4 separate regions of the Homo sapiens genome follow, and regions 1, 2 and 4 are each linked to region 3. The links are contacts of gene promoters, found by promoter capture Hi-C in blood cells and fetal thymus (Javierre and others, 2016). All regions are on one chromosome and are shown on one strand. The core of a region is centred on a gene start or on the middle of the fragment in contact, and the rest is flanking DNA. Distances in the headings are between cores, read along the strand shown. Region 1 overlaps MAT2B (methionine adenosyltransferase 2 non-catalytic beta subunit). Region 2 overlaps CYFIP2 (cytoplasmic FMR1 interacting protein 2). Region 3 holds the start of FAM200C (family with sequence similarity 200 member C). Region 4 overlaps HMMR (hyaluronan mediated motility receptor).

Region 1 (4,842 bases), core at 195-2,694, 3.1 Mb before region 3:
CAGAATGTTTTGGGGTTAACATTATGAAAGATGACTGTCCCTCATGCTGCTTAGAGAAATGTTATCCAACTACATAGACATTGGTGTCATCTTATTTGGTGTCATATCATATGGCATCTATTTTTTCCTCTTCCTTTCTTGACCTCTAGTTTCGGGGTGAATTGTAACTACAGACGAACACTTCTGAAGGCCAGAACCATCATCCCTCTTTCAACTTTCCAAGGACCTTATGTGTTCTAAGCACATAAAGCCTGGGGGTGACGCTGTATAAGGAAAATAAAAAATTATTTCCAGCCCTCCTATATGCCAAAGTGTTTGATTTATCTTGAATAATTTTTAGCATCTCACATTAAAACATTTTAAAGGCCATATATCAATTTTTCATTTCAAAGGGAATATTTTTTAAATCTATAACAAACTGGGGGGAAATTGAAATTGTTCAATAATATGTAGCATGTATATATGTCAAAAATTAGAATTGAAATGGGGACCATGGAAAGCAAAGTAACTGTAGACACAGCTGGGAAATTTCATGGCCATCTTTCAATGTAAATCACTTGCAAGTAAATACATGAAGTGAATGTATTCAATTTCCAGAGATACATTTATATGTATATAAATTCAAGTATTCTGGCTATTTCTGTAGCAAAATACAGAAAAGAACTTTCAGAAGTCCTTAGGTAAAACAAGTTACAAAAATAATTTTCTTTGAAATATTTTTAAATGCATTTACAAAATACTAAAATTAAGTCTAGAAAATACTTAAAAATCACAAAGAAAAACCACTGGTAATCTTATTTATGAGAGAAAACTCCTAATATCTTACAGCTGAAAGTGAAGGTAATATTACAAGACCACCATTTCTCCCCCATACCCCAACCCTTAGGCATTTGTTAAGTCCACAGCTACATGTGCTAGTATCTCTGTTCCAAGTATTTCCACGACAGACCTGTGAAATAGGTGGTATTCTTTTCATTTAACCCTAAAAATTACTTCAAGCTCCGAAAGGAAAAGCAACTTGCTACTAGCAAGTGGAAAAATCACGTTTGAATCTAGAGTTGTTTCTTTGCACTATACATAATACTTCCTTCAAGTAAAAAAAATATCTTGACTAGCCTACCCTTGAATTAAAACCTACTGCACAAAAAAAATTACAAAAAAGCCTACTGCTATATTTAATGTTGATGAGATGATTTGGCTGCCAAAAGGGTATAATTAGCTTATATTCCAGTACAGATACCTAACTTACAATGGGGTTACATCCTGATGAATCCTTCATAAATTTAAAATATCCTGAGTCAAAAATGCATTTAATACACATAAACCTACTGAATATCACAGCTTAGCCTAGCCTACCTTAAATATGCTCAGAACACTTACATTAGCCTACAGTTGGGCAACATCTAACACAAAGCCTATCTTATAGCAAAGTGTTAAATATCTTCTGTAATTTATTAAATACTATACTGAAAGTGAAAAACGGAATGGTTGTATGAGTACTTGAAGTATGGTTTCTATTGAATGTGATTACTTTCACACCATTGCAGTCAAAAAATCTGCTGAACCATTGTAAGTCAGGGACCATCTATACACCAACAAATTGTGATTTCCCTCATTGATACAATGGAATAAATGCAGCCAAAAAAAGAACTAGTTCCTTCTCTTTGGTGCTCTGCTGGTACATAGTGGCACATGTGATTCTTGGTGCAGTGCTCCATGGGTCGGGAGGATCCTTGACCAGGTACAGTGGTCCCTGCAGTCACTGGCATCAGGGCCAGGTCACATGGGTCTGGGAATGCTCAGCTGGCTTGGAGGCCTATGTAAAGTGGAGAACAGAGGAAGGCTTGGCTAGTGTCATCAGAATGATTCTTATGGATGAATGAAGCAAATGAATAAATAGAATAATGAGGGCTGAGGCTGGGCGCAGTGGCTCACGCCTGTAACCCCAGCACTTTGGGAGGCCAAGGCGGGCTGATCACGAGGTCAGGAGATCGAGATCATCCTGGCTAACACGGTGAAACGTCATCTCTACTAAAAATACAAAAAAAAAAAATTAGCTGGGTGTGGTGGCGGGTGCCTGTGGTCCCAGCCACTTGGGAGGCTGAGGCAGGAGAATGGCATGAACCTGGGAGGCAGAGCTTGCAGTGAGCTGAGATCATGCCACTGCACCTCCAGCCTGGATGACAGAGAGAGACTCCATCTCAAAAAAAAAAAAAAAAAAAAATTCGAGCTGAGCACTGTGGCTCATGTCTGTAGTCCCAGCACTTTGGGAGACCAAGGTGAGTGGATCGCTTGAGCTCAAGACTTTGAGAGCAGCCTAGGCAACATAGTGAAACTAAAAATACAAAAATTAGCTGGGTATGGTGGTACATGCCTGTAGTCCCAGCTACTCAGGAGGCTGAGGTGGGAGAATCACTTGAACCCAGGAGGTGGAGGCTGCAGTGAGCTGAGATTGTGCCACTGCACTCCAGCCTGGGTGAGAGTGACACCCTGTCTCAAAAAAAAGAACTGAGAATTCGGTTGCTGTCAGAGAAAGGTGCCACAAACATGGGAAGAGCCAAAATAAACCCTGTGGAACAAGACTGTAACTGGAGCTATCGATGTCAACTTATGGTTTCTTATACAGAGAAATGTCAAAAATATCAAGCTCATGAAAGACAAACACTGAGGAACTGTTCCATATTGAAGCTAAAGCAACATGGCGACACACACAAGTAATCTTGGACTGCATAGACCTATAAAGGAAACTGGAACAACTGATGAAATCTGAATGGGATCTTATGAAATTGAATGGTAATTTCTTGATTGTGATTATATTACAGGGTATATAGGCATGTATCCTTATTTTTAGAAAATATACACTGAGGTTTATATACTAAGTGGGTGATGAAGCATCGTATCTTCAACCTACTCTTCAATAGTTCAGGAAATAAAAATAGTATACATATGTAGTGTGCATGAAAATGATAGGGTAAATGTGCTAAATGCTGACAACTGGGGAATCTGGAAAGGGAAATACAGGCATTATTTATGCTATCATGGCAAATAATGAAATTTTTAAATGAAGATTTTTAAAAAGGACATTTTTGGCCAGGCACGGTGGCTCATACCTGTAATCCCAGCACTTTGGGAGACTGAGGTGCGCAGCTCACGAGGTCAGGAGATCGAGACCATCCTGGCCAACATGGTGAAACCCCATCTCTACTAAACATACAAAAATTAGCTGGGTGTAGTGGCGCTGCCTATAATCCTAGCTACTTGGGAGGCTGAGGCAGGAGAATCGCTTGAACCAGGGAGTCGGAGGTTGCAGCGAGCCGAGATCACACCGCTGCACTCCAGCCTGACAACAGCGCAAGACTCCGTCTCAAAAAAAAAAAAAAAAAAAAAAAAGGACATTATTTATATTATACAACAAATTCCAAATGAAAAAAAGGTCAGAGAATTGTATGTTATTCTTTGTGAGGGCGGATGGTGAGAGTATGGACACGTGAGTTTTTTGATTATATTCTTCTATATGCAGAGTGCCTCTAGAAACATATGCAAGGAACTGATCTACATCCATTTCTTCCACAGTTGAAAAACGGGTGGCTAGAGAATAACAACACTTTTTACTCTCCGAAACTTAATTATGCACTATATGAAATGTAGTAACTTAAAATATAAAACAAAATGCTTTAATTTAGTGGTTGCCAAATGCAATGCCAGACTGGCAACCTTAGAACCACCTGGGAAACATTTAAAAATAAATTAATAGGCCTCAATTCCCAAAATTTATTTCAGTAAGCCCAGGGTAGGACTCAGGTATCAGTAAAATTTCCCCAGTTAATTTCCTCAGCCTACTCAACATGAAGATAAGAATAAAGAACTTGATTATGATCCAGGCCAGGTGCAGTGGCTCACGCCTGTAGTGCCAGCACTTTGGGAGGCCGAGGAGGGTGGACTGCTTGAGGGCAGGAGTTTGAGACCAGCCTAGCCAACATGACAAAACCTCATTTCTACTAAAAATACAAAACTCAGCTGGGCGTGGTGGCGGGTGCCTGTAATCCCAGCTACTCGAGTGGCTGAGGGAGGAGAATTGCTTGAACCCAGGAGGCGGAGGTTGCAGTGAGCTGAGAATGCACCACTGTACCCCAGCCTATGCGACAGAGCGAGACCTTGTCTAAAAAAAAAAAAAAAAAACTTTATGATAATCTACTTCCACTTAATGAATAGTAAATATATTTTCCCTTCCTTGAGATTTTCTTAATAATATTTTCTTTTCTCTAGGCTACTTTAAGAATACAGTATGTAATACACAGAAGATAGAAATATGTTAAATGACTATGTTTATCAGTAAGGCTTCTGGTCAACAGCAGGTTTTTACTAATTAAGTATTTGGGGAGTCCAGAGTTATAGTGGATTTTAGACTGTGCAAGGTTGATACCCCAAACCCACACCGTTCAAGGGTCAACTGTATAATGTAACAAGATTATATAGCTATTAATTTTTAGTTAAAAACAAATCCGTTCCCACAAATAGATACAGTAACTGTAACATTCTAGGATGGGGTGGTAAGTTAACATTCTGGATCAAGTGTTAATTTTATTGTGTTTTATTTCAATACATATTAAACTATATTCTTTTGTATGTATCACATGTTACATCAGAAGAATGTAATTTTTAAAAATTAAAGCAACAAAAGAACAATTAGTTTAGAAGTTTGGTCCTTACATTTAAAAAAAGAAGTAAATACAAGAAAACTAAGCATTACATGCCAGCAGTACATATTTATTATTATTCATGAATGGTGAAAAGACTTACAAGGCCCATTATTATGAGTATAACCACACATATGAAATATCA
Region 2 (5,126 bases), core at 2,564-5,063, 3.1 Mb after region 3:
TTTGTCTGGAAAAACAGCAACTGGGTCTCAGTCCTGGCACCTCATTTTGCGATAACGTCTGTAACTAAACCCGGCAGCCTTGCATTAGGAAATGTAGTGGTTAGGCGGCACTAAGTCCTTTTTCTACGTATTAGCGGTGTGACATCAGGTTGCTCATCCGTAAAATGGGAATCTAGCTCAGAGGATGTGATGAAGAATAAAGGAAATTAATTACTGCCTGTGAATCATCTAGCATGACAAGTGACATAGCAACCACTTACTGTGAGTGGTTATTACCATGATTAACATTCATAATAACAGCAGAATTAAATAGTGGTAGTTATGCTGATATTAGGGGCTGATTATCTTCACCCATAAAATAAATTTCCTGGTACCGCTGGCTTTGAAAAAACAAACAAACAAAACAAGAGCAGAAGCTTTGGGGTGAGATCAGCTGCCAAAGAGTGACGAAGCGAATTTCCACTCACCATGGGCAACAGAACCAGGAGGCTAAAAAAAGCAGTGGGCAGAATGTTCTAGATCACTGAGCTCACAGTACTTGGAGCAGAAACAGGAGGTCAAGAAGGAAAATTGAGGTGAATCAATTGCCTGAGGGGAGGTCACAGACCTGAGAATAAAGGTGGAGCCTCTGAGGTTCTACTGATTTCTCCTTACCTTTTCTTCTTTTTTCTTAAGGGGATGAGAACAATCCCCTTAAGAAAATCCCCTTTGTTATCTGAAGGATCTCAGCTAGGGTGGGATGTGGCTGGGATTGCATGGGTGCATCTGTTCTTAGGCCTGAACTTTGGCATGGGACAGCCCCAGTTTTAACTTTTGTCCTGCCACTTTTTCGCTATGCCTAAATAACAGAACCTCTCGGCCTCCATTTCTTTGTCTGTAAGATGAGGGCAACATGAGTGCCCGTCTCAAATGTGCAATAAATGGTGGCTATGATTATGATAAATACATACTTAAATCAGGGGATGTCACTCTTCACTTTGATTCTGGTTCCAGAATCGGGATGAACATCGAGGTGGGGAACATTTCTTATACAGGAGCCATCATCTCCTGGTCGTCCTCGGAGCCCTGCCTGGAGGACTATTACCATATTATGTACAGGCCCAACTGGAACAGCATCTTCTCTGGCTATCTTCGCTACAGCTTCCACCACGAGGAGAAGGTGCCTCGAACGATCAGCTCCGTGGTGCTGGAACATCTTGCCCCTTCCACTCTCTACTTCCTGTGCATCAGCTGTAAGAAGGCTGCCTTCCCTTACAGGCACTACTGCACCATGTTCCACACCCTGGATAAGAGTCCGCTGGCTCCTGGAAGCTCCCTGGTAGACCCCCAGATCTCCCTTTGGGTGCTGATGGCCATTCTGCTGGCCTGCTTCACAGCCGTCTTGGCCTTCATCTGCCTCCAGTTCTGGTGTGTCCGTTGCCATGAGCCGCGATGGTCTTACAGGGCTGGCCACATGGAGGAGGCCAATGGGTTGGTGAGATGGCCAGAGGAGGCCCCGGATCTTGGTCAGAGGGAGGAAGACCTGCAGGGGCTCCCCCTGGTGGAAATGCCACGCAAGAACTCCAGAGATGGAGCTGAACTGGATCCCGAAGCCAACCAGGATGCCCCTGATGCGGGTGCCTTACAGAGGGGGGGTGGTGACCCACCCGCTATACTGCCTCATTGTGGGGAATGAGAGTGGGGAGGAGAGCGCCCGCATCATGTAGCCTAAAGCTTTCCACACAGTAGGTCGTTTGTACAAATGTGTCTATAGACTACCCATTTCTCTCCCATCAAACGTCACTGCTATTGTAGGTCACCTGGGTTGGATGAATGCCCCATGACAAAGCTTCTCAAGCTGGAAAATGTATCCCCCAGGGTATGCCAAGGCACAAACGAGGCATCTCAGCAGCAGCGTCCACTCGGAGGACACAGTTAAGAATTGAAAGCATTGTTTTAACATTAAAACAAACATGGATATGTTATAAAGTAGAAAGCAAAAATTTGCATGACAAATAAAACACAGCACTTGAAGGAAACACTTGAGTTACAAGTAGGCTCTCAGAGGTACACTTTTGGGCAAAGGTAGATGTCCAGTTTCCTCTGCCCTTGAGGGGATTATTTGGAAATAATTTGGGATTATTTGGAAATAATTTGTGAGAACCCTTGCTCTGGAGTGTTTTCCAACTTTTAGGCAATCACATACCACCGCTCTCTATTTTTTAAAACCATGGATTATCTTCACTATTATTAATAATACTTTCCTTTAAATTGACTCATTTTTTAAGCGTAAACTTATTTTCAAAGACAGCCTTATATTACTCCATAAGTGAAAAACCAGCACCCTCCTGCTGCAAACAGAAGGGAAGAGACATAAGAATAAACATCATGAAAACAAGATAATATTAAATAATCTGACTTAGCTTCTATTGCCTGCCAGTGATTCTGAGCTTAATGCCTGCTTGCTTGTCTTTGATAAAAAGGGAGATCCAGTGTTGGAGAGGTAATAAAGACATATTAGCACCAATATTTGTCTTTCTCCTTGATATAGCATAAGGTTTGAAAGAGAATCGAAAAGGGAAGTGCTGTTTTTACTTTGCGAGTCAGTGTTAGTTAAATGCCATGTCTGTGAACCACCTCAAATGCTGTCAGTCAGCTTCCCTTGATTTGAGAAAATTGTCTTGACCAGACTAGGCAGGCTGTTCTGGAGAAGACGCCTGTACTCTCCAAGCATCATCCAAGACCTTCCCAGTACCCTCTTATATCTATAGAGCACAAAATCCCAGAATCACAGGACGACACTGCAGTGAATCAACTAAGAAACAGCAGGAGCTGAGAAGCCAAGACGAGAAGCCCCACATCCCTATTCCCTTGCCTACCTCATGCATTCCCTGCTCGGCACCCAGACTTTTGCCCCCATTCCTGCTACTTGTGAACAAATAAAGATTCATATACTCACAGCTGTTTCTGCCTGGATCTTATTGCTGCCTTTTTCCTTTCTCTTTAGAGATAAGAGTCTCGCCCTGTCAGCCAGGCTGGAGCGAAGTGGTACAATCATGCTCACTGCAGCATAACACTCCTGGGCTCAAAGGATCCCCCTGCCTTAGCCTTCCAAGTAGCTACTGGTGCATGCCGCCATGTCTAGCTAATTTTTTATTTTTTATTTTTTTGGTAGAGACAGGGTCTCGCTATGTTGTCCAGGCTGTTCTCAAATTCCTGGCCTGAAGTATCCACTGGTCTCGGTCTCCTGAAGTGCTGGGATTAAAGGTATGAGCCACTGTGCCTGACCTCATTGCTGCCTTTATCTCTGCACCTTCTTACTCTTCTAATTAAGAGACACTTTTCTATTTGCTTTTTCTCACCAACCCTCTTCTAGGCAGGGTAGGGCAGGACTACTTACCTTGGATCCATAGAGGTAATAAGGCTGGACGTTGGCAGGTTTGTCTCGTTGTGGTTCTTGGGTGAAAGGAATGGCAGTCCGCACAAAACTAGTAGAAGCATAGGGATGGGAAAGAGTTAATATGGTCCTAATATTATTCTCCATGGGACACAGATAACAGGAGTGCTTCCTGGCCAGGTGAAGGTTTGCACTGGTACAAGTGCACTGTTTGTTAGGTGGTTGACTATAAAGGTACTAAACTCTTCTGACATCTTCCCATTCAACTGCCGTCTCCTTTCTATAGATGGGAAAAATTCAGTCTAGATTCCTGGGCTCAACCAGGGGCTTGTGGCTGCTCCGAATGACACTAGGCAAGAAACTAAGAGTGGACTTTCTCTAGGGCTCCACTCCTCTACCTCCAGTTTGGTTTCTCAAGAGCAGAGTTCAGCAAACTCTTTCTCAAAAGAGCCAGGCAGCAAATATTTTTAGCTTTGGAAGCCAGACGGTCTCTGTTGCAAGTACTCAACTCTGCTGTTGCAGCATGGAAGCACCCACAGACAATAATAAACAAATGAGCATGATCGAGTTCCAATAAAACTTTATCAAATACAAATCATTTTCACTTGTCACCAAATATTATTCTTCTTTGGATTTTTTCCCCTCAACCACCCAAAAGTGTGAATACTATTCTCAGCTCATGGGCTTTACAAAAACAGTCAGCAACTAGATGTGGCCTGTGAGCCACAGTTTGCTGCTCCCTGCTCAAGAGTGTTAAAGCTCCTAAATCTTTATAGAACTGGAAATCTATCTCACTTAGTGTGTGGATCCAGGTGCATTTGTGGATATCTCCCATACCCTTTCATTCATTCAACACACACTCATTCAATACTGGCCTTGAGCCAAGGCTTGGAGATACCTAGAAGATCTGCAGATGAATACATTTTTTTTGCATCCTTACATACTTATTTTGTATGTGAATATATATGCCTTACTCTTCCACTGGGTTATGAAACTTTGTGGGGATAAAGAAATTAGGTCTTGTCTCTACCTCAGTGCCTGGCCCCGGGCCGTGTGCACCTTGCAGGAGGCAAGTTCCACTTTGTCATGCGTATGTGTGCTCTGCAAATGTATGCTGTTTTGCAGGCATGCTTTCAGATACGTGGATATCCTTACAAACATACAATCTGATCATGTCATCTCCTTTCCTCAAACTCTTTCAGGGTTAATAAAAATGCACGATCCTGCCCTGGCCTGTAGAGTACTGCACAATCTGTTCCTGTGTTATCTTTCACAGCACCATTTCCCACCCGACTAGTTTTACCCTCATCAACTTCTTGGAGAAACCCTTAGAAACTTGTCTGGAATATTCTTCTCCTGCCTTTTTGCCTTATTTATTCCTAGTCATCCTTTGCATCTTAACTCCAGCATTACTTCCTCAAAGAGGAAGCCTCCGTTGAGGTTTGCATGACTTTTTGGACTGGAATAGGTGGTACTGTTACCACTGTCATGGCCCTGTGGGCTTTCCTTCATCTCCTTATTCACTGTTTGTAATGGTACATTTGTCATGTGATTGATCACCCACATCCTCCTCTAGTCTGAAGACTCAAGAGGCAGGAAGGTATCTGCTCACCATGGCATGCCCCATGTTTTACTGGAGCAGGAAAACACCCCAATGGGCAACTTCAGAGTAGCAGTAGAAAGAGCTCTTCAATGAAAGAAGACCTAATTGTTAACCACATTCAACTGTCAACCAGCTCTATGACCTTAG
Region 3 (5,267 bases), core at 2,165-4,664:
TAGGCACTGAACGCAGAGGAGGCCCGCCTTCTTCATGTCAAGGAGACCATGCAGATTGATGAGAGGAAGCGGCCTTACAATAGCATGTATGAAACTCGAGAACCTACTGAAGAGGAAATGGAGGCATATAGAATGAAACGTCAGAGGCCAGATGACCCCATGGCCTCTTTCCTTGGACAGTAGCAACTAGTCAGAAGACCATCCAAGATAGATGCAGCTGATACATTCTTTTCAGCTTCTTATTGATGATTGTAGATAGAAAAATCCTTGTTTATTCTTCTTGCTGCCTGGCTTTAATAAATATTTCAGATGCCTCACAGTAAGTTCACTCCTTTCCATACTGAGGAAACAAGAAAAGAAGAAGAGGCACATGAAGTGTGCTTTTGGGAATAGAATTTAAAATTGGATTAAGATTTTATTTCCAGTTTTTTTTATTTATTTATTTTTTTTTTTGAGACGGAGTCTTGCTCTGTCGCCCAGGCTGAAGTGCGGTGGCGCGATCTCGGCTCACTGCAAGCTCCACCTCCCAGGTTCACGCCATTCTCCTGCCTCAGCCTCCCTAGTAGTTGGGACTACAGGCGCCCGCCACCATGCTCAGCTAATTTTTTGTATTTTTAGTAGAGACGGTTTCATCGTGTTAGCCAGGATGGTCTCGATCTCCTGACCTTGTGATCCACCCGCCTCAGCCTCCCAAAGTGCTGAGATTACAGGCGTGAGCCACCGCGCCTGGCCTATTTCCAGTTTTATGTGAGTCATGTAAAAAAGCCTTGGCTCTCTACCTATTAAGAATGTCTCTTTCTCTGTATTTATTAAGCTTCAAACTTTATTGCTTCGATTTTTGTGGCCCTATATTTAGTATTAGCACACCTTGGTTTTGAGAAAAAAACAGGGCTTTGTTTTTTTAAATAATTACTAGCAACTCTGTGACTACATTTATTTTTATTTTTTTTAGAGACAGGATCTTGCTATGTTGCCCAGGCTAGAGAGCAGTGGCTTTTCACAGACAAAGTCATAATGCCCTGCAGTCTTGGGCTCAAGCGATTCTCTCTTCCTTGGCCTCTGGAGTAGACTAAATGTGTTAGTCTTTGAATGGAAAACAACTATTTTCTCATCATTGGGTCAATATTGACTGATCAGTAGTAGGTCTTTTACCATTCTGGACATAAGTCTAGGTGTAGAAATCCTTTCCTTTATCATAGAGGATATGGTTTACATTACCGTTTGTTTTCATTGTGATTGCCCCTATGTAACAATCATGAATATTAGATTTTTTAAATTGTAGAATATCCTAATATTTATAGCCAGCAGCTGTTACTTTGTTTGTAAAATTTGCAAAAAAACAAAACCTGAAGTTGGTTTATTGAAAGAATTATAAGGATAGCTTCTAGGGATATTAGTAATAGATTGCCATGATCCTGAAGCCTCTTCTCAGAACACTGTGAAGATAATACTGACAGTAGAATCAGTGAAAACAGCCTAACAAAACCTCTGACATCAGTATATCAACTTTTAACAGCCCACTCACTGGCTTTTCTAAACTACCAAAAACCACCTGTAGGATACTGCATTAAGTCAGCATCTCAGAAACAGTGGTGTGAGTAACTGAGTCAAATTGTCAAGTACTTTGGATATACATAGTGTCGAGCTTTAGATTGGTATGAAATTAAACAGCAATGCAAATAGATTTAATTCCTATTTACTTTAAGAATGAAAAACAATGTTCATTTTCCTACCTAAACAGGGTGGTTCAACATAAAGGCTGATGTTGTGTCCGTTTTGTATTTTATCTTTTGTTAAAGATACATAAATGACAATACTTAACTGTGAGTGGTTTGTAGCATTATTTCTAATATTTGGCAGAAAAGTTGTTTATGGGACAGGGAGGGGAACCTGGATTAGCTTCTGTGAGTTTAAGAAAATTTCAGCATCTTGTCACCTAACCTTTCTGGACCTCTTTCCCTCTTCTATGAGGCCTGGTTTACTTAGATTTAGGAAGAATTCTGTAATATCCAGAATCATGTCTTCTGTTTTATTTTGGAAAAGTAATGCCTAGCCAGCCTGGCCAACATAGCAGAGCCCTGTCTCTATGAAAAATACGAAAATTAGCTGGGCATGGTGGCACACGCCTATAATCCCAGCTACTCAGGAGGCTGAGGCATGAGAATTGCTTGAACCCGGTTCAAGAAGTTACAGTGAGCTGAGATTGCGCCACTGCTCTCCAGCCTGGGCAACAGAATGAGACCCTGTCTCAAAAAAAAAAAAAAAAAAAAAAGAAAAAAACATAATGCCTAGGACATTACTCAGATTGAGCTTTGATTTTATTATCTCAATAATAGCTGCCTTTTGAGTGCGAGAATTATGTACTGTAATTGTCATAATGTTATCTCCTTCCTCAAAAGAATTTCATGGGGTAATGGATGATATGTAAGTTTTACAAAAAGCACATGGAATTAACTCCAAGTAACCTGCACAAATCCTAACCGTTGGAGTCAGGACATGAAGCTAGCTGTGGGATTCTGAAGCCTACCCCTTTCTCTAGTATTGAAGGCCCTAATTTCTTGACCAACAAGGCTGGTCTTTAGCAGTTTCTTCCATCCACAAAAAACTTCAGCAGCCCGTCAATATTTACCAGGCTCACCCTTAACACCTGAAAATGATGTATCTGGCCCACATTCGTTGACGCCCCACCACTCCTCACACACACTAGTCTTATGGAATGCTTCTAACAAGATTGTACAAAAATGAGTAAACTCATTAAGTTTATAAGAATTCTGGAAAGACCCCCAAACAGGAAAGGGCTATATTCCGGTTTCTTTCAACAACGTTTCCTAGTTTCTACTTGGGATTTTTCTCTAAAACCTCTCTAATATGGGTTTATTTCTTTGAAATCATGTTGTTGAAAGAATTTAAAATAAAAATATTTCAGATATATGATGATGACATGGAAATTCATCCCTATGCTCCCACTTACGGAAAGTGGGATCAGCTTGCATAGGCAACAGTACACAAGCTATGGAAGCTCATCCTCCACTGCTGAAATGTCTAATCTGAAATTACAATGAGCTTCCTTCTCTTTTTCTCTCATTTATTCCACATGGAACATGGCAATTATCAGGCGTTTTATCTCCAAGCTCAAAGCCCGACACAATATAAAAGTTTAAGTGCTCTGCATGTTAAAAAGAACTATGTGGAGTTTACAGCCCCTTCCATTCCTGAAATTGTACAGTTCATCCTCTCTGGCAGACACAATAAACAAACGATTTCTTGTTCCACGTACACAATCTTAAAAAAAAAATTGGGAAGGGCTAGCGCGCATGCTCAATACTCAAGCCAGCCAGCCCATCCCACAGCCCTTTGCTACTGCGCCTGCGTGTGGGAGACGCCTCTCCCAGTTTGCGGGCGGGAAGCACCCTGGAGAACCCGGATGGAACCCGGGCCTGGCTGAGGCGGAGGTTGTTGCGGATGCTTCTCTCTCCAGGCGCACCGCAGATTCCTGCCCGGGGGTTGGACCCGAGGAACCGCCGTCTCTACTGGTTCCGACGGCCAGAGGCTGGGCCCTAGGCTGAGCGGAGAGTGGGACTGGAGCCTGAAACGGGCGCCTAAAAGAAGCCCGTGCATCCCATAGGCCTGCGCCTCAGGCTTGGAGACGGGCGGGCGGAGACCGCGCTGAGTCTTTTTTTTTTTTTTCCTAGCAGCTGGCGTTCTTATCTCACCCGGGAGGCTGTAAAAATCTCCGTCCTTAACAGTAACACCATCAGGTCCTATCAGTTAAGAGCTGCTTGTTATTTGCATGCATTCTTATAATTAAATCTCCTAACAACCCTGTAAGGTAGGTACTGTTATCCCCTCTGGAGGAACTGAGGCTTGGAAAGGTCCCATCCTGTAAGTGACAAAGCCACGATCCCAGGCGTTTGCCCCTGGAGCGTCTGCCCAGCCACCAAGTTCCTGCCCCCATTCTCCTGGCTATTGATTTTAACTGTAAAATGTAATGGTTAAATGCTCTGCCTCCCCAGACACCTGCGCCTATCATGATCTTGCATACGCAGTGGCTAGAAAGAAGTTGAATTGTATTTGGTTTGGAGTTTTAGGTTTACAGCTGCACTTTGGTGTTTTCACTGCTGGAATATATATATATTAGCATTCCCTAAATATTTGTTTTGTGAGTGTTCACTTTTAACTGATTTTTCTCATTTGTAATACTTTTTCATATCTACCCTTCATAAACTTGCAAAAACATTTTACTTTGTTATATCAGATCTTTCATTAAGCATCTGAAGATAATCTCTCAAAAGAATCATGCTTAAAATGAGTGATATCTATCTTAAGATAATGCTTTTTATCTTTTTATTATGGAAAGTTTCCAAAATACATTAAAATAGAACGGTGTAATGATGTATACCCATCATCCAGCTTCAAGAGTTACCAACTTAAGGCCAGTCATTTCTTTTATCTCCACCCCGCTTTGTGCATGTTTGTGAGTGTGCTGAAGTACGTATTTCAAAGGAATCCCAGACATCTTATTTCACTTGTAAATAATTGTCTGTATCTAACAAATGAGGACTTTTTAAAAACACAACCACAATACCATTATCATGCCTGTTTAACAATATCTCCTTATCATGATGCTTTTTAATGTTTACGTTTTTTAGGATATTGTAATTCCTAAATACCACAAAAGCGCAAGTGCAAATTGTGAGGTTCTAAAACACAAGCCTCTTGGGCAGTAAGTTCATCTTTGAGGCCCTTGAAAATTCTTGCCACCTGTTCTCCCTTTTTGAGGGTTATGGAGAAGAATACTTTAAATTGATTTTCCTAAAACTGTTCAAAACAGATAAATTTTAAATTAAAATATACTTGAGAGACATAGTCAAGGTGGATAGGAATGGACTCTTAACAGATCTTGTAATGATTTCCAGTTTGTTTTGTTTTTGAGACAGAGTCTCACTCCGTCACCCAGTCTGGAGAGCGCAGTGGCATCATCTCGGCTCACTGCAACCTCTGCCTCCCAGATCAAGCGATTCTCCTGCATCAGCCTCTCCAGTAGCTGGGATCACCATGCACAGCTAATTTTTGTATTTTTAGTAGAGACGAGGTTTCGCCAAGTTGGCAGGGCCAGTCTCAAACTCCTGACCTCAGGTGATCCGCCTTCCTCGGCCTCCCAAAGTGCTGGGATTATGGACATGAGCCACCGTACCCAGCCTTTTTTTGAGACAGAGTCTGGCTGTGTCACCCAGGCTGGAGTGCAGTGGCGTGATCTCAGCTCACTG
Region 4 (4,845 bases), core at 931-3,430, 3.1 Mb before region 3:
ACTTTCTCTTGTTGCAGAAGTGAATCAATTTGTAATTCTTTTTGTTGAAGCTTTTCACGTTCCTGTTGTTCAAGAATAAACTTCTGTTTTAAGTTTTGCATCTCTGCATTTAGATTTTCGTTGTGTTCTCTATTCCTGTTGACATGGTCTTCTAGAAAACGCAAAACATCAAGAATACTGGAATTAGATAAGAACATTAAGACTGAGAAACCTGGACTCCCATAATATTCCATTACACTGCTTTTAGCATGGTATTTCCAAAGAAGAAAACAAAACTGTGAACTTTGTATCATTACTCCATGTAATATATACTATGTGCTAAATAATAAAACCCACAAATCTTGTTCTGTGTTATCTACTGATTGTTACACAGCCACCTAGTGGAAAAGTCAAGAATTATATGACTGTATATATTTCAATCAAGACAGGTAATATGCTGTATTGAAATAAACAGAAAACAAACATTATAAGAGTAAAATATTCTAAAATGCAGTACAGGTTTTTGCTGTTGTATAGCTATATAGCTAATTATATTTAAAATGTTAGTATAGCTAATTATATTTAAAAGGTTGTTTTAGCATAGTAGTATTTTTCCTAAATGTTGTATGTAACACTTATCTAAACAAAGTAACTATAAAACACTGTAATACCTTTTTCTTTTTCAAGCAGCTGACATTTCACATTTAGATCTTCTACTTGTTTAGATAATATAACAATATTCTCCTCAAGAGACTGCTTAAGGCTTAAAATTTCATCATTCTTCTCTTTCAAATTTTCTTCTAACTGGGCAATATCTAGCTTGTATTTTTCCACTTGATCTGAAGCACAACTGCATTAAAACAAATTATCTTAAAAAGCACATCTATTTAGGCACAGGGAAAATAACAGAAAAATGATGAAAATGACTGAGTATTAAAAAAATAAGGTTCAATTTAAAGCTACTGCTCATATTACCTAATTTCTTCGATGTATTCCAAGAGTTTTTCTGTTTCAGATTTTTCATCAATCTTTTCTTTCTCTATTGAAACACTAAAACAAAAATTGCATATGTTAATACATTCTAGTTTCGTTATTTAATAATCTTACATAATGCTTATGTACCAGATACTCCTGTATCAGGCAGGCTGACTACAGAGCCCTAACTCTTAACTATTATTTTATGTAATTTCTCAAATTCACAATTTACATCAAAATAGAAGACTAAAATTTTTATTTAAGTGAGAAAGTTTTCTGAATATATACTGACAAAAAAACCTATGATGACAAGAACCATCATTACAGTATCCCAAGTGTTAGAAATAATATTCTTTTTGTGGTCTTCCTGGTTTCCCCACCCATCCAACATACTAAATAGCATTTTGTGTGCCCATAAAGCTTTTGTCCCAGACTACCTGGTCTTCAATTACTTATCTGTTTACCTCCACCAAACTGTCCAATGCAAGAAATGGACAAAAGACTTCAATAGACACCTTGCAAAAGGTGATATGCACATAAAATGGTCAATAAGCACATAAAAATAAGGTCAACATTCATGGTAACAAATTAAAATCACAAAGGAGATACCACTTCCTACCTAGTAGAAAGGCTAAAATCAAACAGACTGACAACATTAAATGTTGGTGAGAATCTGGAACAACTGAAACTATCATACATTGCCAGGGGGTGTATAAAAATGGCAAAAACACTTCTGAGTTTTAAAAAACATTATATATACACTACCCTATTACCCAAGAATTCTACTCCTAGAAATTTCTCTGAGAAATAAAAACGTGTCCATAAAAAAACATAAAACATGTTCACAGCAGTCTTTTTAATGGCAGACACTGGCAACAGCCCAAATAATGATCAAAAGGAGAAGAGTAAAGAGATGGAGGTATATTCATAAGGTGAACCACTACTCAGAAATAAAATAGGAAAAATTACAGTATACAGAACGGTTTGGATGAATCTTGAAAAATTACATCAAACAAAAGAAGCAACACACACACATGCTCTTTCTCTTTTGCATGTCCTAAAAAAAGGCAAAACTGGCCAGGTATAGTGGCCCATGTCTATAACTCCAGCACTCTGAAGGCCAGGGTGGTATCACTTGAGTCCAGGAGTATGAGACCAGCCTGAGTAACAAAGCAATGCCCCATCTCTAAAAAAAAAAATAAATAATAATAATAATAAATAAAAAAAGGCAAAGCTAATTTATGATGATGTAAGTGAGAAAGTAGTTATGGGGATGGGGACATGACATAGGCAGTAGCAGGGGGACAAGAAGGGGTATGAAGGAACTTTCTGAAGGGATGAAAATGTTCTCTATCTTGTTTGGTAGTGGTTACGTAGGTGTATACAATTGCTAAAGTCACCAAACTGAATACTTACTATCCACACATTTTATTATATGTATATTAAAGCTCAAAATCAAAGGCTAGGATTGTGCATAAATCACAATTTCCTATACCAGTGTTTCTCAATTTCAATCTAATGACCACTTTCATAAGATCATGAAATCTTTCCTCATCATTAATAATACAGAAGATGTACAAAAGTAATGCACTCATACAACTTTGTAGCACAACATGTTTGAGAATGATTAGGGCTCATTCTAGTTTAAAAAGAGAAATAGGGCAACTGGAGGGAGGCAATGAGATAAGTACTAACAGAAGGTTGAAGTCTCAGTAAACAATAATTTGTGAAGAGACTCAAATCAAGAATTGCTTCCACTTAACAATTTCTCTTCACATTCACTCACTTACAGTTTTCCCTCCAGTTGGGCTATTTTCCCTTGAGACTCTTCGAGACTCCTTTGGGTGACCTGCAGCTTCATCTCCATGCCTTCTTGCTTAGCCATCATACCCTACACAACAAAGATACCTGTTTTAGGAAATGAGAAAGTTGTACTGATCCCCAGATCCAGACACAGCAAACCTGCCAAGGGCAGCACTCACCCTCATCTTTGTTTCTCTTTTGTTTCTAAGTTTCATCAACTCCAAGCTTAGAATTCTCAAATTCTTCTGGTTACCATTTTCAGAAAACTAAATACAACAAACACGTAAAAAATTCAGAAATATTTTCTGCTAAGACATATTTAAAATACACAAATATTGATTTTTCTACCTATCACTGGGGTTATGTTTTTGACTTTAATATACTTTGGTAGAGAGAACAGTCTTTGACCTACACCATAATTACTGATTGATTTAATTTTTTTTTCTTTTCTTTTTAAGAGATCAAGTCTCGCTCCGCTGTCCAGGCTAGAGTGGAGTGGCATGATCATAGCTCGCTATAATCTCAAACTCCTGGGCTCAATCAATCCTCCTGCCTCATCTTCCTGAGTAGCTGGGATTACCGGTGTGCACCACCACCATGCCTAGCTAATTTTTCAATTTGTTTATAGAGATGGGGTCTTGATATGTTGCCCAGGCTGGTCTCAAACTCCTGGCCTCAAGCAATTCTCCAGCCCTCAGCCTTCCAAAATGCTGGAAATACAGGCATGAGCCACTGTACCAGTCTACTGTTCTTATCCCTCTTTTCCTTAATGTGACTTGCTGGTTTATTTTTATTTTATTTTTGTAAGACAGAGTCTCACTCTGTCACCCAGGCTGGAGTGCCGTGTTGCTCACTGCAACTTCCACCTCCCGAGTTCAAGCTATTCTCATGCCTCAGCCTCCCGAGTTCAAGCTATTCTCATGCCTCAGCCTCCTGAGTAGCTGGAATTACGGGTGTACGCCACCATACCTGACTAATTTTTGTATTTTTAGTAAAGATGGGGTTTCGCCATGTTAGGCTAGGCTAGTCTCAAAATCCTGACCTCAAGTGATCCATCCGTCTCAGCTTCCCAAAGCGCTGGAATTACAGGTGTGAGCCACTGTGGCTGGCCTGTTGGTTCATTTTTGAAAGGTTGTTTGGGTGGTCACTTACCTCTATATGCTGGAAAGTCCATTGCAAGACTCTAAAGCAAGTCCCTGAGAAAGGATTTCTTGAAACATGTTTGCTTAACAAAATGAATCTGAATCGCCTGGTGTATGTTGTTTTGTTTTGTTTTGTTTTTTGAGATGGAGTCGCACTCTCTTGCCTAGGCTGAAGTGCAATGGCGCCATGTCAGCTCACTGCAACCTCCACCTCCTGGGTTCAAGTGATTCTTCTGCCTCAGCCTCCCGAGTAGCTGAGATTACAGGCGCCCGCCAATAGGCCTAGCTAATTTTTGTATTTTTAGTAGAGACAGGGTTTCTCCATGTTGGTCAGGCTGGTCTCGAACTCCCGACCTCAGGTGATCCGCCTGCCTTGGCCTCCCAAAATGCTGGGAACACAGGCGTGAGCCACCGTGCCCGGCCCTAAAAAACGTGTTTATATTTATTCAATTGTAAATATTATCATGAGGCTCAGATACCTTAGATTTTAGTAGTTCATTAGTCCTGGTCAATTCAATAAGTTGTTTTTCCAGTGTAGCATTATTTGCAGAGAGAGATGTTTTTTCCCTTAGTGCAGCATTTAGCCTTGCTTCCATCTTTTCCAACTCAGTTTCCAGATCCTGGATCCGCCTGTCCTGGGCACCACGTTCCTGTAGAAGAACACGAATCTGGACAAAAACAAGGTGATAATAAATGATTCACTGATAGAATGCCAACATAAGGAGATGCTACCAATAATCACCCCTAAAGTTTCTGGAAAAATCTCTGATTTTGACATTATGCTTGTAGATATTCTAATGTTACTAGCTATTTGAATAATCATATTTACCTATGATACATCTTAAAAGTCTTAATGCATTTTAAGAACATAAGAACTTTAGTTGCCATAAGTTCCAAGTACAATTAAGCTATCTATTCACTTTTTTTTTTTTTTTTTTGAGATGGA

Evidence for each region. Contacts are between HindIII fragments. The CHiCAGO score rates a contact against its expected background, and 5 or more counts as called.
Region 1: a contact is called between a fragment that was not itself captured here and the fragment with the promoter of FAM200C in region 3, in 1 of 17 cell types (naive CD8 T cells). The highest score is 7.0, in naive CD8 T cells.
Region 2: a contact is called between a fragment that was not itself captured here and the fragment with the promoter of FAM200C in region 3, in 1 of 17 cell types (neutrophils). The highest score is 16.1, in neutrophils.
Region 4: a fragment that was not itself captured here is called in contact with the fragment with the promoter of FAM200C in region 3 in 2 of 17 cell types (M0 macrophages and total B cells); the score reaches 11.2 in M0 macrophages.

Annotation. Positions count from the first base shown.
Region 1 is chr5:163,519,056-163,523,897 of GRCh38, reverse strand. MAT2B (methionine adenosyltransferase 2 non-catalytic beta subunit) reads right to left here. Exons shown (of 7, transcript NM_013283.5): 7 at 4,544-4,842. Among named protein-coding and RNA genes, the nearest start is that of MAT2B, 16 kb to the right of the region's middle. The HindIII fragment of the contact is 9,934 bases long and covers 1-4,842 here.
Region 2 is chr5:157,339,411-157,344,536 of GRCh38, reverse strand. It overlaps CYFIP2 (cytoplasmic FMR1 interacting protein 2), which reads right to left. Exons shown (of 31, transcript NM_001037333.3): 23 at 3,380-3,467. It overlaps FNDC9 (fibronectin type III domain containing 9), which reads left to right. Exons shown (of 2, transcript NM_001001343.4): 2 at 994-2,939. The coding sequence starts at 1,001. The coding sequence ends at 1,675. Among named protein-coding and RNA genes, the nearest start is that of FNDC9, 3.7 kb to the left of the region's middle. The HindIII fragment of the contact is 3,966 bases long and covers 1,831-5,126 here.
Region 3 is chr5:160,398,201-160,403,467 of GRCh38, reverse strand. It overlaps FAM200C (family with sequence similarity 200 member C), which reads left to right and starts at 3,414. Exons shown (of 2, transcript NM_022090.5): 1 at 3,414-3,829. SLU7 (spliceosome associated SLU7) reads left to right here. Exons shown (of 16, transcript NM_006425.5): 16 at 4-1,827. The coding sequence ends at 183. RefSeq lists enhancers at 3,725-3,874, 3,768-4,453, 4,773-5,267. The HindIII fragment of the contact is 7,568 bases long and covers 817-5,267 here.
Region 4 is chr5:163,469,363-163,474,207 of GRCh38, reverse strand. HMMR (hyaluronan mediated motility receptor) reads right to left here. Exons shown (of 18, transcript NM_001142556.2): 5 at 4,379-4,567; 6 at 2,937-3,023; 7 at 2,745-2,845; 8 at 955-1,029; 9 at 651-829; 10 at 3-151. Among named protein-coding and RNA genes, the nearest start is that of HMMR, 11 kb to the right of the region's middle. The HindIII fragment of the contact is 1,608 bases long and covers 1,377-2,984 here.